Linked DNA regions of Homo sapiens: region 2 is linked to region 1. Evidence: promoter capture Hi-C in 16 types of primary human blood cells and fetal thymus (Javierre and others, 2016). All regions are on one chromosome and are shown on one strand. The core of a region is centred on a gene start or on the middle of the fragment in contact, and the rest is flanking DNA. Distances in the headings are between cores, read along the strand shown. Region 1 holds the start of LINC03102 (long intergenic non-protein coding RNA 3102). Region 2 has its middle 16 kb from the start of CTH.

Region 1 (4,117 bases), core at 575-3,074:
ACTGCCCCCAGCCCATTCATTATTATTATTATTTTTTATAGAGGCCGTGTCTCACTATGTTGGTCAGGCTGGTCTTGAACTCCTGGGCCCAGGTGATCCTTCCACCTCAGCCTCCCAAAGTGCTGAGATGACAGGTGTGAGCCACTGCACTTGGCCCCATCCATTATTTTTAAGGGCTTGTAAAAATGACAGAAATGTAAGATTACAATATATTATAAAAAAGATAGAAATATGATTGTAATACATTATGAAAAATACAAGGATTGAAATTATATAAGCTCCCAATACAATATAGAAAAGGAAGTCATTAATTCTATTTGGGGAAAATAGAAATTGGATGATCAGAAAAGCTTTCTGGGGCTGGGCGTGGTAGCTCATGCCTGTAATCCCAGCACTTTGGAAGGCCGAGGTGGGCAAGTCACTTGAGGTCAGGAGTTCAAGATCAGCCTGACCAACATGGTGAAACCCCATTTCTACTGAAAAATACAAAAAGAATCAGCCAGGCATGGTGACGTCTGCTTGTAGTCCCAGCTGCTCGGGAGGCTGAGGCAGGAGAATGGCTTGAACCCAGGAGGCAAAGGTTGCAGTGAGATTGCACCACTGCACACCAGCCTGGGCGATAGAGCGAGACTCTGTCTAAAAAAATAAATAAATAAATAAAAGAATTACATCAAATTTTATCCCTTCTTAGCACAAATTTTTTTTTAACTTGGCATAGAATTCAGAGCCAGGAAATTGTGTTGAACTAACTTTCCAAATAAAATTTAGCATGTCATTCTATTATGAACGTATGCCACAAACCACAATAGTATTAGCATTAGTAGTACCTGTGACTTCACAACCAAAAAAACCACAGGTATTTTCATTTCACATAACAGTTGCTGCAGACAACTCAAAATTTCATTTATAGTCATTAGTACCTCTAAAATTATCTTAATAGGTATGCTCATTGCTATATCTTGTTCTTTAATTAGTTAATAAAGAAGCATATACATTACTGTATTACAAATTTGCTTTTAAAATATTTTGTTAGGTATTTCAATACTCAGAGTTTCCTTTTAATCCAAAATATTTTATGCATTTAAAAACACTGTTCTGAAAATGGGTCCCTGGGTTTCTCCACACTGCCAAAGAGTCAATGGCACAAAAACAGAAGTTAGGAACTTCTTCTTAGGAATCTTTGATGATACCTGCCCATTCGTCTCCTTTTCTCTCCTATCCAACAAACCCATCGTTCTGAATTAGGTGTCCCTCCTTTGTCTTCTTTTTGATTTCCCATTGTAACTTCTGCATGCCTCCTTGATATTCTTGTCTGGTCTCAACTAATCCTTGGAGCTCTCTGAGCACTGGAATCATGCTGATCATTGCTGTATGCACAGTGCCCTACAGGGAGTGAATGCTTATATTAATAATAAGCAGTTGTTGAATTAATCAGTCTATTAGAACACAAAACCCCAAGTATCTACAAGGTACTAAGACAACTGCAGACTCAGTAATGAGATGCTAAATAAACTTCTTAAATAATCCCAATATAACTACACTGAAATTAGCTGCTACACTCTTGAATTCTTACATGAAGCCAAAGAGTAGATATATCATTTAGGACTTTTTGTTTTTCATGTAGAAGTAACAATAAATTCAATTGAAACAGGGTTAAATTAAAGGAATGTATTGACTTACATACCAGAAAGGTGCAGAGATAAGTCTTCAAGAGTGGCCCCTCAGGATCCCATGTCAGTTTTTCAGTGAATCTCTCGGTGTTTCTCTCTGTATGAGGAGTCCTCCTCAGGCCTGCTTCCTTCAAGAACACAAGATAACTGCCAGCAGGTAAAAGCAGCCACGTGCTTCCTCCTTAAGGTCCAAAGGAGTTCCTGCTCCCACATAAATCTGGAGTATGACAGTTACAAGATAACTCAGTCCAATCTGTGTCCCAGAGAACGGTGATTGGCTCAAGCCTGGGTTATCTGACAAACCCCTGTGAAGGAGGGGTTACTCAGATTAGTTTCACCCAATCAGGATTGATCTCGGAGCCGGAGGTGGGGCCCAGCTCTCCAAACAGTGAACTGTTTCATAATGGGAATGAGGTGGGGAATAATGTTGGAGAGACAAATGCAAGAGTGGTCAGCAAAAGTACTATATCCAAAGACTTAAAACAGGATTTTGCTTCAAAAAAATCTGTTATCACAGTGTCTTGAATTCAATATGATAAAATATGTAGTGATTATCAATTATATCAATATGTAATGAGTAAATAACTTCACTGGTAAACACTGTATTTACTTTTTATTCAAATTTTACAAGATAGAATGCAATCCATCAATTCAAGTATAGAACTAAACTACTGGCCAGGCGCAGTGGCTCACGCCTGTAATCCCAGCACTTTGGGAGGCTGAGGCGGGTGGATCACCTGAGGCCAGGAGTTCGAGACCAGCCTGGCCAACATGGCGAAACCCCGTCTCTACTAAAAATACAAAAATTAGCCGGACGTGGTGGTGGACCCCTATAATCCAAGCTACCTGGGAGGCTGAGGCAGGAGAATCGCTTGAACCTGGGAGGCAGAGGTTGCAGTGAGCCGAGATTGTGCCATTGCACTCCTGCCTGGGCAACAGAGCTAGACTCCATGCCAAAAGGAAAAAAAAAAAAACCCTGAGAACTAAACTACTGAATTTGCTAGGTAATACTCTGTAGTTCTACAAATTAGCAAATTAATTTCTCTCCTGGTGTAGTTAACTCAATAATGCTCAATTTGCCTTGAATAGCAAAAAGCTTCTGAAAAATGAATGTTTTTCAACTTTTTCTAATGAGAGTTTTGTTAGATAGTTATGTGCTCACCAACACCAAACACTGACTAGACAGTTAAATCTGTCTCTAAGAAAGAACGTTGTGAATTTTGCCAGAAATTTATGTATCTCTATTAGCCCTACACAAAGCACCTAATCCCTGTCCTGGTGTCTTCATTTAACAAAAGCAGTAGTATGGTAACATGAAATACAGAACAGCAGTACTGTACAAAATAAAATCTCACTCGTTATATTTTTTAAATATATCAACAGACTTCCAATTAGGATCTGTAGTTACTAACCTTACTCAATTCTCATTGCATTGCATACTAATAATGTTTCTAATGTAAATATTAGTGCAAGTTTAGTCTACATCTTTTTTCTTTCATCTTCTCTGAAGATTTGTGTTTTATATTCTCACAATAATCTGGAATATGATTTCCTACATTCCACAATGGTTGAACAAGATCTAGGAGTATTTTGTTTGATAGATGATAGGGCTATCTAACTAATGAGGTAATTGTCTCTGAAATCTGACGACACAGCAGTACACTGACAGATGAAAATAACAAACCATGTAAATCAATACTTAATTCACACATTTTACTTCCATCTCCCTGGGTCTCAGTATTTTTCTCTTTCCTCTAAATCTGCCCCCTTCCTTTCTCAGAGGCAATGCAGAGCACTTTCCCTTTCTTCTACGGTTTCTGATCAGTGGTTATCAGTGATTTTGTAAAATTTCTCTTAAGTAATCAGAAAAAAAATCTGAGAAGCAGGGGTTGCCAAGGAAACCAGAGCCAATAACAGCTGGAAGTTCCTGAAGGAAGAAATTCCTTTGAGACAGATAAAACCTACAGACTGATTTGGAGGAAGAAGGAGAAAAAATGCCAGGAGCACAGTGAAAGGCTGAGTCAATGAGATGAAAAGGAAAAGATAAAGTGAAACATTCATAATTAAAATTATTTTTAGATCGACAAAGGCTAGAAACAAGAGAATTAGAACAGAGACAGGAATGGGTTTTTTAGTGAAAGAAGAGGTTAAGACACAATGGGTAGGCCCAACACTTTGGAAGACCGAGGCAGGCGGATCACTTGGGGCCAGGAGTTCGAGACCAGACTGGCCAACATGACGAAAACCCATCTCTACTAAAAATATAAAAATTAGCCAGGCTTGGTGGTACATGCCTATAATCCCAGTTACTACAGAGGCCGAGCAGGAGAAATGCTTGAACCTGGCAAGCGGAGGTTACAGTGAGCCGAGATCCAGCCTGGGTGACAGGGCAAGACTGTCTCAAAAAAAAAAAAAAGGCACAATGGGTAGTGTGTAAGAGATTAAAT
Region 2 (3,684 bases), core at 313-2,812, 34 kb after region 1:
CGAGGAGACAGATAACACCTAATAAACACAATAAATAAGTAGTTTATAAATCTACAGTCTTCTAGGAAGTAATAAGTGCTATGAGGAAATTAGAGCAAAATAAGGGACATCAAGATTTGGGGAGGAGGCTGGATGTGGTAACTCATGCCTATAATCCCAGCACTTTGGGAGGCCAAGATGGGAGGATTGCCGGAGGCCAGGAGTTTAAGATAAGCATGGGCAACACAGTGAGACCTGATCTCTATAAACATTTTTTTAAAAAATAGCTAAGCATGGTGGCACATACCTGTAGTCCCATCTACTCAGGTGGCTAAGGTGGAGGATCGCTTGAGCCCAGGAAGTTGAGGCTGCAGTGAGCCGAGATCACACTAGTGCACTCTAGCCTGGGAAACAGAGTGAGATCCTGTCTCAAGAAAGGAAATTTACAAGAAAATGGGTTGAAATTTGAAATAGTGTAGTCAGGGTAGTCTCACTGAGAAGGAGGTGTCATTTGAGCAAAGACCTAGAGGTGATGGGGGAAACAGCTGTGGGCTATTTGGGGGAAAGGTATTCCCACAGTAGCAGGAATGAGGGAGTAGTTTGTGCAAAGGCCCTGTGCAGGAGCATACCTGACTTGTTCAGGGAATAGGCAAGGAACCCACTTTAAACGGAGGACAGAAAAGTAGGAGATAACAGCAGAGAGAATATCGTAGGGCAATTAAAAAACTCTGGCTTTGGCCGGGCGCGGTGACTCACGCCTGTAATCCCAGCACTTTGGGAGGCCGAGGCGGGCGGATCACGAGGTCTAGGGATCCAGACCATCCTGGCTAACATGCTGAAACCCCGTCTCTACTAAAAATACAAAAAAAATTAGCCGGGTGTGGTGGCGGGCGCCTGTGGTCCCAGCTACTGGGGAGGCAGAGGCAGGAGAATGGCGTGAACCTGGAAGGCGGAGCTTGCAGTGAGCAGAGATCAGGCCACTGCACTCCAGCCTGGGCGACAGAGCGAGACTCCGTCTCAAAAGTAAAAAATAAATAAAAATAAAAATAAAAACTTTGGCTTTTACTCTGAGTGAGATGTAAAGACATTAGAGTCTTAAGGAGGAGGGACATAACTGGACATGTATTAAAAGGATCACTGGGGTTGCTATGTTGAGGGTGGACTGTGAGAAGGAAGAAATGAGGTCAATTTGGCTGCTGTGGTAGTAATCTAAGAAAGAGACAGTCAAGGCAGTGGAGGTGCTTGTGTCTCTGAGGGTTTAAATGAAGGAATCAACCATAGTATCAGTTGGGTAATGTCATAATGATACTTTATAAAAATGACTCTACAGGCCGGGCGCCTTGGCTCACACCTGTAAATCCTAGCACTTTGGGAAGCCAAGGTGGGTGAATCACAAGGTCAGGAATTCAAAACCAGCCTGGCCAACATGGTGAAACCCTGTCTCTACTAAAAATACAAAAATTAGCTGGGCATGGTGGCGAGCGCTTGTAGTCCCAGCTACTGGGGAGGCTGAGGCAAGAGAATCGCTTGAACCTGGGAGGCGGGGGTTGCAGTGAGCTGAGATCGTGGCTTTGCACTCCAGCGTGGGCGACATAGCAAGACTCTGTCCCCCCATAAAAAAAAGACTCTATGTGTTATAGTTGTTTGGTCTAACTCTCTCACTCTCCTGTAAACTGTTCAACACTAGGGACTAAGTTTGTCTTTGTGTGTGTGTGATACGGTCTTACTCAACTCAGTTCACACAGCTTCCACCTTCCAGGCTCAAGCGATCCGGGTGGGGGGTGGGGGTAGGTTGCAGTGAACACAATAAATAAAATAAAATTTTTGAGCGAATGACTGGATGGTGATATTATCCACCCTAATGCTTGTGACCCAAAACTTTTGATTAAGGCTCTGTTTTAATAAGCGAACATTTAGCAAGAAACAGGGAAATGGACTTAGAATTTCTGCTTATGGAAAAAATGCCTCAGGGGCTGTATCTAGTCTCAAAAAAATGTCCTGTAAAGATTAAAGACATTTTTAATAAGTAAATATGAAGTTATAAATGGGAGAGCATGACTTCAGAACTATTTATAATAAAAACTATTCTACTAGAAACTCAAAAATGCTCCAATATAATTGGATAAAATTACCCAGTAGTCTTTAAGGTTAAATAATAAAAAAAAATTTTTTTAGTGACAGGGTCTCTCTCTGCCAGCCAGGCTTGAGTGCAGTGTTTCAATCATAGATTACTGCATCCTCAAACTCCTGGGCTCAAGGGATCTTCCCGCCTCAGCCTCCCAAGTAGCTGGGACTACAGACAATGCCACCATGCGCAGCTAATTTTTAAAAAAGGTCTTTTAGAGATGATGTCTCAACATGTTGCTCAGGCTGGCCTCAAACTCCTGGCCTCAAGCCAGCCTCCTGCCTCAGTCTCCCAAGTAGCTGAGATTACAGGTGTGAGCCACTGAGTCCAAAGCTAATAATTTGGTTTTTTGCCATTTAAATAAGGTGGTTATGTAGTAGGCAAACTCTTTTTGGTTTATGAGTGTCAATCTGAAGATATAAGACTTAGAAGCAGTAGCAGATATGCTTATTTTTTCTCCATTTTTTTCTTGAACTGCAACTAGAGGAGGACCAAATCAGTCTAGCTTACTTTCTCTCTCTCTCTCTCTTTTTTTTTTTTTTTTTTGAGACAGGGTCTCTCTCTGTCACCCAGGCTGGAGTGCAGTAGCACGATCTCCGCCTCACTGCAACCTCCGCCTCCCGGGTTCAAGCAATTCTCCCACCTCAGCCTCCCGAGTAGCTGGGATTAAAGGTGCTTGCCACCATGCCAGCTAATTTTTGTATTTTTAGTAGAGAAGGGTTTCACCATGTTGGCCAGGCTGGTCTCGAACTCCTGACCTCAAGTAATCTGCCCGCCTCGGTCTCCCAAAGTGCTGGGATTACAGGCATGAGCCACAGAACCCGGCCTAGCTTACTTTTTCTACTGTCCCATTTTTCCTCCCATCTTAATGACTTTTCTTATGTTTTCATATTCATTTTTTTCTTTGGACAGATCTATACTTCAGAAAAATCACTCCAGTGGGCTTTAAGCAGCAGCAGCCTATCTATTTGTAGATTTCCTACATATGCTGGTTTATAATTCATTTTGGAACAAAGTTCCTTTATTAAAAAGTTGGCTTCATTTAAAGCAAATAACACAGTAAATAACTTGGTGATACTGATGTATTCTGATTATTTATTTTTTAGACTTCTTCAGGACAAAGATTAAGTCTTGGTATCCCCTTGATTGCCTAGCATTTATTCAGTCATTTAACAAATATTTATGGGGCATTTTCTGTATGACAGATACAGAACTTGATGCTGGTGACACTAAGATAAAATATTGCTCCGTTACTTTCAGAAATGCATAACTTAGCAAAAGACATTTAAATAGGCAATTACAATGAAACACAATAAGAATTCTTATTGAGACCACATCTGTGGTAGGGAAACTAATGCTGGGGGTAGTAGCTTCAGGTATATTTTAACTAGAAAAGGAAAAGCTTGAGCTGAGATGTAGAGAATCAGATGAGTGTTAGTTCATCTGGAAAGGGGAAGGAAAATTCCAGGATAACAATATGTATAAAGACTCATAATCATGAAAGGATATTGGCATATTCAAGGAACTGAATGTAGCATGGTATGGTTGGAGAAGGGTAGGGAAGGCAAGATCATGATGGG

What was found. Contacts are between HindIII fragments. The CHiCAGO score rates a contact against its expected background, and 5 or more counts as called.
Region 2: a fragment that was not itself captured here is called in contact with the fragment with the promoter of LINC03102 in region 1 in 1 of 17 cell types (naive CD8 T cells); the score reaches 5.9 in naive CD8 T cells.

The regions. Positions count from the first base shown.
Region 1 is chr1:70,358,613-70,362,729 of GRCh38, forward strand. LINC03102 (long intergenic non-protein coding RNA 3102) reads right to left here and starts at 1,825. Exons shown (of 2, transcript NR_183713.1): 1 at 1,685-1,825; 2 at 947-1,383. All of the region lies in intron 1 of ANKRD13C-DT (ANKRD13C divergent transcript), which reads left to right. RefSeq lists an enhancer at 461-520 and a silencer at 1,757-1,950. The HindIII fragment of the contact is 2,416 bases long and covers 349-2,764 here.
Region 2 is chr1:70,393,055-70,396,738 of GRCh38, forward strand. No RefSeq gene overlaps it. Among named protein-coding and RNA genes, the nearest start is that of CTH, 16 kb to the right of the region's middle. The HindIII fragment of the contact is 3,884 bases long and covers 1-3,504 here.